4 separate regions of the Homo sapiens genome follow, and all the other regions are linked to region 1. Evidence: promoter capture Hi-C in human tissues and cell types (Jung and others, 2019). All regions are on one chromosome and are shown on one strand. Each heading gives the region's core, a stretch centred on a gene start or on the middle of the fragment in contact. The rest is flanking DNA. Distances are from core to core; before and after follow the strand shown.

Region 1 (3,429 bases), core at 270-2,769:
CAGATTGTTGGGGTTTTTTCCCCCTAAAACTTGTCAGTACCCATTTGTACTGAGACAGAAGGGAAACAAAGGCTGACACAGCTACTTCTTGAGGTTTCGTGTCTTTTAGTTACAGTAAAGGCACCAAAGAGATTTAGTCATTATGGTCAAAAATAATTTTTCAACTCCTTTCAGGTTGAAATTAAGGAGCCCAGCAAACAAGGACGTTGCAATGGCAGTTAGAAACAACAGTTTTGAAAGGGCAGATGAAACAGACTCGCTACAAGACAAGGGGATTGTTGAAAAGCCCTCCACAACAAAGGAAATGAACTCAAATCCCTAACCTGCGGGGCGTTCCAGCAACCCTGAGGCCAAAAATAAAGCTCTCTGATGAAAAGCCTCCGCGTGTTAGGCTTTGTGTAGGGAAAGAGAGTATCAAACAGAAGGTCGAAGGTTAAGTTGTTTTTCTTGTAGGAGGACCCTTTGACCACACTCGAGCCTGAAACAGAATGAGGATCTGGAAACCCCCACTCTGTCTTTTCTGTGCCACGCATCAGTCCTTTCAAGGAGAAAACTTCTTTTTAATAAACTTAGGTCAAGTGTCCCTTCTGTTCTAAGCATGGGGGTACTCGAGGTTAAATGAGAGGCTGCCAGTCCTTGGTAAACATCTAACTTTTCCAACTCAACCATATCTAAGGTTTCGGTAAAATTCTCCAGTGAAACATGAGAATTAGATAAAACATTCTTGCACCGTGATGGCTTTTGACAAATTAAACAAAGGGTGCATGTTTGCAAGAGTGCAAAAATACGCCTTGCCTTGACAGTTAAAAAATGTAATGTACGAAACCACTTTCCTTGACACTTCAAAAAATGTACGTGATTATCAACACCGAGCTGTTAGGGGGACTCCACCAAGGTGGGTCTTCTTTTCTATCGGGTTAAGAAACAGAAGTGGGCAGCCCGTGGGTGAAACTTGGAAATCTGTCTCTCCAGCGCAAAGCCTCCCTTGGACTTGGCACGGGTGTAGGGAGCGAGACACGGGTCCGCAGATGGGATTCTGGGGTTGCCACGACTCACCTCGCCAACTTCTCCAGTCTCGCAGCGCCCCGGCGGCCCGCTCGGGGGCGCGGACGCGGGGGCCGGCGCCTCCGAACTCCCGGGCTGGCCCCGGGGAGGGCGCCCGGCCCCGGCCAGCGCGCGGGGACAGGCGCGGGGTGGCGCTGCGGGGCGGACGCGGGGCGCGCGGGCAGCGCTGGGGGCTCAGCGCGGCCAGCGCGCAGGGACAGCAGCGCCAGCAGCAGCGCGGCCAGCGCGAGCAAGAGCAGCGCCGCCGCCTTGCTGCGGAGCTTCATGGTGCGGCGCGGCGGCGGCGGCGGCCCCCAGGCGGCTCGGCCCCTCTGCGCATCGCGGCGGCGGCAGGATGAGTGCAGCAGCGCGCGGCGGTCGCCTCCTCCGCCCGCCCGCCGGGGACTGGGGTCGTGGCGGCCGGCGGGCGGCCGGCGGCGGCGGCGACGGCGAAGGAGGAGGAGAGAGAGGAGAGGAGGGGGAGGCGGTGAGAGCTGGGTTACAGGAGGAGCAGCCTGCGCCTACCGTACTGTGTGGAGTAGCCGCCCCTCCGCCCGCCCGCAGCCAGGCTCTCGGGCTTCTGGTAGCTCAGACTCAAAACCACTTCATTCATTCATTCGTTCGTTCGTTCGTTTACTTCCCCATTCACTCACACACCCATGCCATCCACTGTTCCCGCTGATTCTCTCATACCATGATTCACTTATTTGTTGATGTATTCCATGTGCTTCCTCCTTATTTATTTTATCCATCTATCCACACATTTGTGCACTTATCCACACATCCTTTCAGGCAGGAACATCTCTGTCCTGTTTGCCCAGTGCAGGGATCTGCGGGTGGTGGTGCCCAATAAATATCTGTTGAATAAACCCCTATTGCCGCCTCTGTCTTGCCACCTCCCTTTTTCCTGGAGGAGGACATATTCAACAAGGACACATGCAAAATAAGGCAAAGCGAGTAAAAGTAACACGTGATTAGTAGTTGGGGTTTCAGACTCAAAACACCAAAGTAGAACTTGGGACAGCTAGACTGGACCGAACCGATCCATGTAGTCTGAAGAAATTAGAGAATGAATTTCAAAGTTTGGATTTGAAATCTGACACTGTGCTTAACTGGCTTGGTGATCCTGAGGAAGCTGCACAACTTTCTTAAGCCTTAACTTCCTTACGTGCAAAATGGGAATGACAATACTGCTCACTACAGAGGCGTTTTGTGAGCATTAAATTAAATAATGCCTTCAAAGAAACTAGCACAGTGCCTGGCTCACAGTCGGTGCCCAATAAAAGTTCTGTAATGATTAGTTCAATAAAACATAGCTTATAATATACACATAAACACACATTTTATTTTCTTTCTGGCACAGATTTGAGATAGAGTAATAATTTCACAACACAATGTAAGAATGGCTTCTTTGGAGACTTTAACAGCTGCAATCGCCAGATGAAGGTCGTAATTTCCAGACGATTCTTCCAGGGGATCCCCAGTTACAAATCTGAAACATTAGGACACATCCTCTTATGACTCACGGTGAACTGACAGCCAGGACTCCATTAACTCTCTTTTCAGCACACCACAGAACAAAGAACACTAGTTAAGTTATAACAACGTCCCTGAGTTTTTCAGTTTTTTTTTTTTTTTTTTTTTTGGATCACTCTGTAGCCCAGGCAGGAGTGCAATGGTGCAATCTTAACTCACCGCAGCCTCCGCCTCCCGGGTTCAAGCCATTCTCCTGCCTCAGCCTCCCAAGTAGCTGGGATTACAGGCTGCGCCACCACACCCGGCTGATTTTTGTATATTTAGTAGAGACGGGGTTTCACCACGTTGGCCAGGCTGGTCTTGAACACCTGACCTCAAGTGATCCGCCCGTCTCGTTCTTCCAAAGTGCTGGGATTACAGGCATGAGCCACCGCGCCCAGCCCGTCCCTGAGTTTCTACAAGATTCCATGTTGCTTTATAAATAATCTAAAATTTAGTTATATTCTGAATTATTCTCATATTAGCATTTTATTTTAATTCCTTGAGAACCCATTGTATTAAAAGTTCTAGAGATGAGAATATTTAGTAATTTGGAAGCTCTTGCCAAGCAGACATCTAGGAAATGGCAGGGTGCAAGTTCAGTGTGGGGGACATGTTGTAGGTGAGTAAGCGCAAAGAATCCATTAGTTCTCAAAGATGAGGGAGAAGGTTCCATCCTACCAGGAAGCATCTGGAATTGTGGGAAGGCTGACAGGTTCTACTAGCATATGCAAAACCTCCTGCAATGCTCAGGACATACCAACAACGAAAACTATCCTGGCCCAATGTGGGACCCTGTTGAGAAACACTAGGCCAGGCTAAGGCATGATGTTTAGATCTTTCAGGTTTAGAAATGGCCACCACTCTGTT
Region 2 (3,429 bases), core at 289-2,788, 230 kb before region 1:
GTGTGCTGCCTTAGTGAACTGCCATGTGTTATGTTCTATTTTTATTCTTTTTTTAATTTCTTATTTTTAGAGACAGAGTCTCACTTTGTCACCCAGGCTGGAGTGCAGTGATGCAATCATGGCTCACTGCAAGCTCGACCTCCTGGGCTCAAATGATTCTTCTGCCTCAGCCTCCTGAGTAGCTAGGACTACAGGGGTGTCCTACCACACCTAGCTAATTTTTTTAGTTTTTATAGACACGGGGTCTCACTATGTTGCCCAGGCTAGTCTTGAACGCCTGGACTCAAGTGATCCTCCCTCCTCAGCCTTCCAAAGTACTGGGATTACAGGTATGAGCCACCTCACCCCGCCATATCTTTATTCTTGATTGGTCTTCAATCAGGCCATGGCTCCCCCCAGCCTTGAGGAACTGGAACGGACAGACTGTGTCTCACTTATCTTTTTATTCCTAGAAACTGGCACAAAAGCCCTTAACACTTTAAAATTTTTTCCAACCTCCAGCTATAAGCCAGGCATTGTGGAAGATACAAAGAGAAGAAAGGTAGGATTGCTGCCTGTGATAACCTGCCTTTTATTTATAGTAACAGTGATAAAAATGACTCAAATGCAAATGTTTAATATGAAACTGTGTTAATGCCACGCATACATTACTTCGTTTCATTCTCCCAACAGCCCCTTGATAGAGGGTGTCTTCCCCACCCCCACCCAAACCCGCAATTTTACAATCAAGGAAACTACAGCTCTGAGCAATTAAGGAATTTGCCTTGGTTCTAACTTGCTGTCAGCTAGAGAGGGCAGAGCAAGGATGCCCACCCAACACAATCAGGAATATTGAGCAATACTTGGCAGTGTGTGGTTTCACACGCAGGATGATGGGAGGGCCAAGAAGGACACACCATAATCAAACAGCAGTGAGGGCCACTGTTCCAACAAAACTGCTAGGGTTGCAAGTGACAGAAATGGAAATCCAACTCAATGTGGCTTTAAAAAGAGAGAAAGGAAATTCATTGGCTCAGTACATGGAAAAGCCCAGCCATCTGAACGTAGCTGGATCCCAGATGCTCAAACAATGTCAGGAAGGCTCATCTCTAAGCCTGGGTTCCACTTTCCTCTGGGTTCCTTGCCAGGCAGGCGTCTGCTCTGATGATGGCACAGATGTCACCAGCTCCAGGAGCACATCTTGCAGCTTAGCATCCCCAGCCAAAAAAGAGGGCATCATTCCCGGGAACTCCAGCAAAGTCCTGAGTCTGACTCTTATCCCAAGCAGACTGCTGTGTGTGTGACTGGCCTGGGTCATTTTCCCACCCCAGTCAATGTGAATGAAGTTGTGGATCAATCTCCCCAAGCGGACATGGACCTCAAGAGGAAAGGATTAACCCCAAGGCACTGGCCACCAACAGGCAAAGATAGCACAATTCAACTCTGGCCACCATATTTGTTTAGCTTCTCTCCCAGCCTGATACAATAAAATAACATTTTAAAATTAAATGTTAAGTTAGTAAAAGTAATTGTTATAAATTAAATAGTAAAAATTAAATTATTTCCATTTAAAAGATGTAAATAAAGAATATAAATGAAAATTTTAAATATATGAATGAAATAATTTTTTGAAACTACGAGCAGCTTTATGATAGGCTGGCTGTGAGCTGTAAACTAGAAAGGGAGAGAAAGTTACCTGTAAATTTTTCTTTGTCCACAAAAATAAAGGCAGATGTCTGAGTGAGCACCAGCAAATGCTACAGAGGCACTTCTTATTCCAATGGCTGGGAAATGGTGAATTAATCAAGAATCTGTCCAGATGAGATACAAAAACAAAAAAATATATACACAATATTTTTGAAAATAAACATTTTATTGTAGAGTGATTTTAGATTTACAGAAAAGTTTCAGTGATAGCACAGAGGGTCTCCTTATACCCCTCACTTGGTTTCCCCTTTTTTTTTTTTTTTTTTTTTTTTAATTTGAGACAGGATCTCACTCTGTCACCCAGGCTGGAGTACAGTGGTGCAATCATAGCTCACTGCAACCTCAACCTCCTAGGCTCAAGTGATCCTCCCACCTCAGCCTCCTGAGTAACTGGGACTACAGGTGCACACCACCATCCCCAGCTAATTTTTTTGGATCTTTTTATAGAGATGAGATTTTGCCATGTTGCCCAAGTTGGTCTCTAACTCTTGAGCTTAAGTGATCCACCCGCCTCGGCCTCCCAAAATGCCAGGATTGCAAGTGTGAGCCACTGCCCCAGGCCAGTTTCCCCTGTTATTAACATCTTATCATGATTTGTCAAAACTAAACTGACATTGGTACATTTCACCAATTTTTTCATTCATATCCTTTTGTTTGTTCCAGGACCCAATCTAAGCTACCACATTGCATTGAGTCATCATGTCCCCACAGTCTCCCATGTACTGTGAGATTTTCTCAGGGTTTCTTCATTTTTTTATGACCCTGACAGTCTTAATGAGTGCTGGCCAGGTATCCTGTAGAATATCTCCCATTGTGGGTTTGACTGATGCTATTCTCATCTCATCTGGGGCTACATACATAACATTTTGTTTTAACTTCAAACATATAGATTATCATCACTAGCCAATATTTTGATGAACGATGAATACCTTTAAGGATGGGTTCCCTAATTGGAGTTGCACATCTTCCTTGCATGAACCACAGCCATAATGTACCATCTCTGAATTCTGGATTCAAGTTCTTTGAAGAAGCTTTATCAATTAAGAATGCTTTGGGTTGCAATTAAGAATGGCTTAAGCAATGCAGATATTTAATAATCTTATATATCAAATACTCTCCTCTCTCTCTCTTTTTTTTTTTTTTTTTTTTTTTTAGACAGAGTCTTGCTCTGTCGCCCAGGCTGGAGGGCAGTGGCGTGATCTTGGCTCACTGCAACCTCTGCCTCCTGGGTTCCAGTGATTCTCCTGCCTCAGCCTCCTGAGTAGCTGGGATTACAGGCATGCACCACCACACCCAACTAATTTTTTTTTTTTGTATTTTTAGTAGAGACAGGGTTTCACCATGTTGGCCAGGATGGTCTTGAACTCCTGACCCAAGTGATCTGCCCTCCTCAGCCTCCCAAAGTGTTGGGATTACAGGCGTGAACCTGGCCCCAAGAAACATTTTTAGGGGAGTTAGGAAGTGAGATGGGGAAGGAAGGAACCCGTCCAGATGGCGTTATCAGGCCAGCTACCACTGTAGGCACCCGGAGCTTAACACTGCTGGGCAGCTCTGGGAAGCAGTGCAGAGCACACCCCAGAGCCATCACGCCAAGGGCAAAGGGCTGGGGGACTTATACAGTGGCTCCTGCCAGTCATCTGGGAGGCAGATCTGGGGGTGGGAGGGGGGGTGCTAATTCTCCAGCACTTTGGGTCAGAGTAAGGTGTGTTTGTTTACCTGAGTCAGAAAATCCTCAGGTAAAAG
Region 3 (3,429 bases), core at 238-2,737, 200 kb before region 1:
CGATCTCCTGACCTCGTGATCCGCCCGCCTCAGCCTCCCAAAGTGCTAGGATTACAGGCGTGAGCCACCGCGCCCGGCTAAGGTCAATTTTTTTAATTGAACAGGCAAAAGAAATCCAGGATCACTCCATGTCTGGGTTTGGCCAATATTTTCCCAAGGCACCAGAGAGTAAATATTTAAGCTTTTCAGGCTAGTAAGAGCTCAATCCCCACCACCCTCAGCAATGTCTTTGAAATTCAAAAGCAGCCATGGACAGTAAGTAAAGGAATGGGTGTGGCCACGTGCCAAGAAAACTTTATTGAAGATGCTGAAACTTTAATTTCATGTAAGTTTCACATGTCTTGAAGCATTCTTCACTTGATTTTCCCCCCAATTGTTTAAAAAATGTGAACCCATTCTTAGCTCACAGGGCTGTAATCGGCCAGCTCCTGGTCTGTGGTGATGGCCTCTTCATTTCTGCAGTGATCTCACTATAGCTTAGGGGTGTGTCCAGCTCGGGGCACCTGTGTTAAGAGGAATATTAACCAGCGAACTGGTATGCCATCAGTCTGGTGCCAGGATGGGAGGAATGTTGAAAAACTTGGGGCCGTAGATCCTGAGGAAAGAAAATTTGGGATTAGAGGGCAAGAGCAAAGTGGAATGAAACCTGCCATCAAATAGGTGATGGGCTGCGGGAGGGGGATCCCGGTCTCAGATGCAGCGTGGCCAGGTAGGACAAGGTGGCTTTGGGGCTTCACCCAAAGGAGAAATATTAACCATTCCTAGAGCTTCCGTGGAGAAGGAAGCCCTGGAGCAGCGACCAAGATGCACTTAAGGCACCAGTGGATCAGTGGATGGGATGCCCTCGGTGTCCCCACCCCATCCCTGTCCTCACCACCTCAGGGCACATGCACCCTCCACGGCCAGAACCTGCATTTCTTTTTTCTTGCTTGCTTTCCCTCTTTCTTTCTCTTTCTCTCTCTCTCTCTCTCTCTTTCTTTCTTTCTTTCTTCTTTCTTTTTTTTTTCTCGCTCTGTCACCCAGGCTGGAGTGCAGTGGCGCGATCTTGGCTCACTACAACCTCTGCCTCCTGGGTTCAAGAGATTCTCCAGCCTCAGCCTCCTGAGTAGCTGGGACTACAGGCTCCCACCACCATGCCCGACTAATTTTTGTATTTTTAGTTAGCGACAGGGTTTCACCATGTTGACCAGGCTGGTCTCGAACTCCTGACCTCAAGTGATCCGCCTGCCTTGGCCTCCCAAAGTGCTGGGATTACAGGGGTGAGCCACCGCGCCTGGGCGTCCTGCATTTCTTTACCTGGGAGCTTCCTTGGCTGCCACTGTCTGCTCTGCCCACCCACAAGGCAGGTCAGAAGCACAGGGAATTAACCCCCCTCAGAAGCAGCACTTCACCCGTGTTGGTGGGTAAATGTCCCAGTTGTGTCCCCACTGGGAGAATAGCTCTGTGGGGTGTAGTCTACACCAAAGAGTTCCTCAGCAGGGCCAAGCAAGGGTGAGCCAAGAGAAGAACTCACTCCCAGGCCCTGCAAATTTTTAAACTTTAATAATTATACATGGCCAGGCATGGTGGCTCACGCCTATAATCACACTTTGGGAGGCCAAGGGAGGCGGATCACTTAAGGCCAGCTGTTCGAGACCAGCATGGGCAACATGGCAAAATCCCGTCTCTACTACAAATGCAAAAATTCGCCGGCTGTGGTGGTGCACACCTGTGGTCCCAGCTACCGGGGAGGCTGAGGTGGGAGGATCACTTGAGCTCAGGAGGTCGAGGCTGCGGTGAGCCAAGATAGCACCACTGCACTCCAGCCTGTGCAACACAGTGAGACACTGTCTCAGACAAAAATATATATATATATTATATGGGCTGTCAATCAAGTGCGTAATAATTTTTTCTTTTCTTTGCATTTTTTGAGGGGAAATTTATCTTCCGAGCCTGACTCCTCCATGCCACCTGAAAGAAGACGTAACCTCATCTCATTCCGATTCCCTCCATGATTTCTGGGGATTTCTGCATCTCTCTGAGTTGAATCCAGTGATTCATATGGTTTCCCTCGGCCTCCTTCTCCTTCCCTGGGGTTGCTCGGGGTCTCAGTCCAGACTGACACATCCACTTTCTCTCTCTTCTCTCAGCAGCCTTCTGAGCGGCGATCACCTGTTCTGCGTGTTTCCATGTCTTCTCTTGAACCCTGACCCAATCTTGCGCTTACAAGTTTAGAACGTTCCTCCCTTTGTTTCTCCTCTTCACCAGCGCCCTTAAACTGAAGAGCTCCCACCTGTAGCAGGCCAACAGGTAAGCCTAAAGACAGGAGGTTGCTTGTGTCAGTTACCTGTATGTCCCCTGTCTATGCAACAGCTCAGATATGTGTCCAGCAGGCATTTCCGATATTTTCAAGACCCAGCTCCCAAAGGTGGCCCCATGTGGACCCGTCCCCACCTCAATATAGGGCAGTGACTCTGGCCAAAAATCTTGCTTGGCTCATGTTTCTTGGCTCATGTTTCTTTCATAGTCCATATTCAATCGGTCAACAAGTCTTGTCAGGTCCATCTGCAAAATGTATCCAGAATTTTATGCTGTAGAATATTATTCAGCCATAAAAAAGAATGAAATCCTGTCCTTTGCAGCAACATGGATAGAACTGGAGGTCATTATGTCAAGTAAGCTGGGCACAGAAAGAGAAATATCACATGTTCTCACTCATATGCAGGAACTAAGAAAAAGTGGATTTCATGGAGGTAGAGAGTAGAATGATGGTTACCAGTCTGAGAAGAAAATCAGGGGATGAAGAGAGATTGACTACTGGGCACAAAAATACAATTAGAAGGAATAAGATCTGGCCAGGTGCGGTGGTTCACGCCTGTAATCCCAACACTTTGGGAGGCCAAGGCAGGCGGATCACGAGGTCAGGAGTTCGAGACCATCCTGGCCAATATGGTGACAGAGTAAGACTCTGTCTCAAAAAAAAAAAAAAAAAAGAAGAAGAAGGAATAAGATCTAATGTTCAATAGCACAGTAGGGTTACTATAGTTAAAAATAATATTTTGTGAGTGTGTGTGTGTGTTTTAATACAGAGATGGGGTCTCACTATGTTGCCCAGGCTGGTCTGAAACTCCTGGGCTCAAGCAGTTCTCCCATCTTGGCCTCCCAAAGTCCTGGGATTACAGGCATGAGCAACTGCACCTGGCCAATAATGTACTATATATCTCAAAATAGCTGGAAGAAACTTGGAATGTTCCCGACACAGAAAAATGACAAATGTTCAAGGTGATTGATATGCTAATTACCCCGATTTGATCATTACACATTGTGTGCATGGATCAAAATATCATACTTACACCATAAGTGTGTGCAAACATTATGTATACATAAAAATTAAAATTAGCTGGGTGTGTCTGTAGTCCCAGGTACTTGGGAGGCTGAGTCTGTAGTCCC
Region 4 (3,429 bases), core at 368-2,867, 160 kb before region 1:
GAATTGCTTGAACCCAGGAGACAGAGACTGCAGCGAGCCAAGATCACGCCACTGTATTCCAGCCTAGGTGACAGAGCGAGACACCTTCTCAAAAACAAACAAAACAAAACAAAAAAACCGGGGAGTTTTACTTTTGTACAGAATATCTTTTTAGTGTTTTTAATGTTTTACAAGCGGCCAAAAATGGTTACTTGTAACTAACAAGCAAGCCGTTACTTAGGAGAGAAATGATGACTCCAAAAAAAGTCTAAACAAAAACTCACTAAAATACTTCCATAAATTAGTATTTCGTTTTAAAAGAAATGTGATTTCTCAATGATATAAAGGTTCTATATAAAGTATGAAGACATAACACCAAATATAAAACAGGAAAGAAAAACCATTAAAATGTTTCCTGATAAATGACTGTTTCCACTGATACCTATAAAAAGGTGGTTCAAGTTTTTTAAGAGGCTACAAATATTTTAAATAGTTGTAAGCTAAAAATCATCAACTACTACATGTCACTAGAAACAAGGAATTTATTCTAATGGATAATCAATCATCAACCAGACACATCAAAACTAAAAGAAAAATCTATTCATCTTCTGCTAAAAATTAAATCTTTAAAACAGTATTAAGTGCATACCCATTAAATCCAGTGACAATTTTCAGTATTCTTTCCTTCATTTCATCAAAGGGAATATATTCGACATTAGGGTTGGGAGGACCTCTTGGCTCAGGAGCTGAAGTTCTGAAATCATCCATCACTTTCTCCAGTTTGAAAATAAAATAGCCTTTAAATTGGGACCACTGAATCCTATAAGCAAAAAATTAAAAAATATATAATACCATGTAGCTTCACAATTCTTGAACACAAAACACAAATATAAAATATACTATGACACTAATACTAACAAAATTAAGATGTGAATAATTAGTAATGAGAATGCCGTCATTGAAGAGCACACATCATGCCTCATTTATCACAAGCTCCATCCTGATGCTATCCAACTCCCAACCCAAACAAAACCCAGATCTCTCATTTAGATCTTTTAAATGAACTACCTCTGCCTGAAAGTCTATGGTGTGTTAGGTCCTATTCTTAGTATGTTTAAAATAATATTTTGACTCTTTCACTCATAACAAACCTAACCAGGTGGGCATTAGTTACACTATCCTATTAAGTCAGAATGAATCCATACCTTAATCATCCAAGTTACAATGTTTGCATGGACTAGTAAAATTTGTCTATTATCTACTAAATAACAAAATAAACTTTACTTTCTCCTTTTTTTTCCCCTTTCAGTTAATATCTTCAGGCTCTTTTGTCACTTAAGAGACAAAAGGCATGTACCTATGATTAAGGCACATAATCACAGGTTCTATCCAACCAGTACTTGCACAATAAAAATACATAATTTGCTTAGGTACTTTTCACATCTATTCATTTATCAAATTAACATAAACACCTTTTTATCCCTCTTTCCTCACATTTCACCAGTAATATAAAAGGAAATTTTGTGAGGATACCTGCCTGAATAGTGTAAATTCCAGGAGACACGGGAGTCAGGAATGCTAACCATTTCCTCAGGCAGACAGTACTACCATTAGTGACAGCAGATCAATCTCTTTACACAGGTTGACTACTTAAACAAATTTACACAAATTAACGGGAGCCCATCTGTAATCACCTTCCATCCCATGCAGCAACCCTATAAACTAGGGTAGCAGTTTTCAAATTGTGGTCCAAGAGGTCAAAGCTATTGTCAAAAGAATAAGGGCTGACTAGTTCACTGTTAATGTGTGCACTGATGGTATAAAAGCAAGGTGGATAAAACTGATAATCCATGTAGCAAGAGTCAGGACAGCAGCACCAAACTGTATTACTAGCTGTAGCAGAAGCCAGAATTTTCACAAACTCGTAATTTTAAAAATCTGTTCCACTTAAAGTGTAAAAGATATAAAAATTACTAATTTCATTAAATCCCAACCCTTGAATACATCTTTTACATATTCTGTGTAACAAAATGAGAAACAGGTATTAAAAAAATTATGCTGCATATCAAAGAGGTATGAGATTCTCAAAGAACAATACCTTTATTTAGACCGCTGCCAGCTGAACTAGCTATTTTTCATAGAACAGCATTTTAACCTGAAAGGACTGCCACACAAATAAAGCTTATTTAGATTAGCAGACTGGGTGTGATGGCTCACACCTGTAAACCCAGCAGGCGGATCACCTGAGGTCAGGAGTTCGAGATCAGCCTGGCCAACATGGTGAAACCCTGTCTTTACTAAAAATACAAAAATTAGCCAGGCGGGGTGGTGCATGCCTGTAATCCCAGCTACACAGGAGGCTGAGGCAAGGAGAATCACTTGAACTGAGGAGGTGGAGGTTGTAGTGAGCTGAGGATTGCATCACTGCACGCCAGCCCGGGCGATGAGCAAGACTCCATTTCCAAAAAAAAAAAAAAAATTAGGAGAATGTGGTAGACATTTTCTCAAAAATAAATAAAGTGAACCTGTCATTTCAAGATAAATAACTGACAGTATTTGTTACCAATGATAAAAATTTGAACTTCTAAGCAAAAAACTAAAAGTCTGGACAATTTTTATTCTTCACTGTGAGCTTGAAAGCTTCCTGATATAGTCCCAAAATATTCTGAAGGCAACCAGTGTCGACATAAAAATATTATACGAGGCCAGGTGTGGTGGCTCACGCCTGTAATCCCAGCACTTTGGGAAGCCGAGACAGGAAGATCACTTGGGCCCAGGAGTTGGAAGCCAGCCTGGGCAAACAGCAATACTCCGTCTCTACAAAATAATTAATTACTAATTAATTTAAATTAGGCATGGTGGTATGCACCTGTAGTCCCAGCTACTCAAGAGGCCGAGGCAACAGGATTGCTTGAGCCCAGGAGGTAGAGGCTGCAGTAAGCCAAGATCACACCACTGGAATCCAGCCTGAGCGACAGAGCAAGACCCTGTCTCTTAAAGATACTGTGTGATACCAAAAGCACAAGCAACAAAATTGATAAATTGAATTACATCAAAATTTAAAATTTTGTGCATCAAAGGACACTATCAACAGAGCAGAAAGTCAAATCGTGAAATGGGAGAAAATATTTGCAAATCTTTTATCTGATAAGGGGTTAATATCCAGATTATATAAAGAACACCTACAACTTAACAAAAAAGATGACCCAATTTAAAAATGGGCAAAGTACTTAAATACGCACTTCTCCAAAGAAGATATACAAATAGCAAACACACAAGATGCTTAACACCATTAATCTTGGGGAAATGTAAATCCAAATCACAATACCACTTTACACCCATTAGGGTTGGCTATTATCTAAAAAACAAGTGAACAAGTATTGGCTGGCCAAGGATGTAGAGAAACTGAAACTTTCCTTTCTGAGACAGTGTCACTCCGTTGCCAGGGCT

Evidence for each region. Contacts are between HindIII fragments. The study calls those that stand out against the background at their distance.
Region 2: a fragment that was not itself captured here is called in contact with the fragment with the promoter of GXYLT2 in region 1 in 2 of the 25 tissues and cell types used here (mesendoderm cells and stomach).
Region 3: a contact is called between a fragment that was not itself captured here and the fragment with the promoter of GXYLT2 in region 1, in 1 of the 25 tissues and cell types used here (spleen).
Region 4: a contact is called between a fragment that was not itself captured here and the fragment with the promoter of GXYLT2 in region 1, in 1 of the 25 tissues and cell types used here (bladder).

Annotation. Positions count from the first base shown.
Region 1 is chr3:72,886,136-72,889,564 of GRCh38, reverse strand. It overlaps GXYLT2 (glucoside xylosyltransferase 2), which reads right to left and starts at 1,519. Exons shown (of 7, transcript NM_001080393.2): 1 at 1,057-1,519. The coding sequence starts at 1,331. RefSeq lists silencers at 1,020-1,149, 1,250-1,479. The HindIII fragment of the contact is 12,200 bases long and covers 1-3,429 here.
Region 2 is chr3:73,112,583-73,116,011 of GRCh38, reverse strand. LOC107986098 (a long non-coding RNA gene) reads right to left here. Exons shown (of 3, transcript XR_001740754.1): 2 at 1,676-1,790. Among named protein-coding and RNA genes, the nearest start is that of EBLN2, 53 kb to the right of the region's middle. The HindIII fragment of the contact is 3,247 bases long and covers 1-3,161 here.
Region 3 is chr3:73,087,335-73,090,763 of GRCh38, reverse strand. No RefSeq gene overlaps it. Among named protein-coding and RNA genes, the nearest start is that of EBLN2, 27 kb to the right of the region's middle. The HindIII fragment of the contact is 5,374 bases long and covers 1-3,429 here.
Region 4 is chr3:73,044,556-73,047,984 of GRCh38, reverse strand. PPP4R2 (protein phosphatase 4 regulatory subunit 2) reads right to left here. Exons shown (of 9, transcript NM_174907.4): 3 at 629-799. Among named protein-coding and RNA genes, the nearest start is that of EBLN2, 15 kb to the left of the region's middle. RefSeq lists an enhancer at 1-77. The HindIII fragment of the contact is 3,331 bases long and covers 1-3,282 here.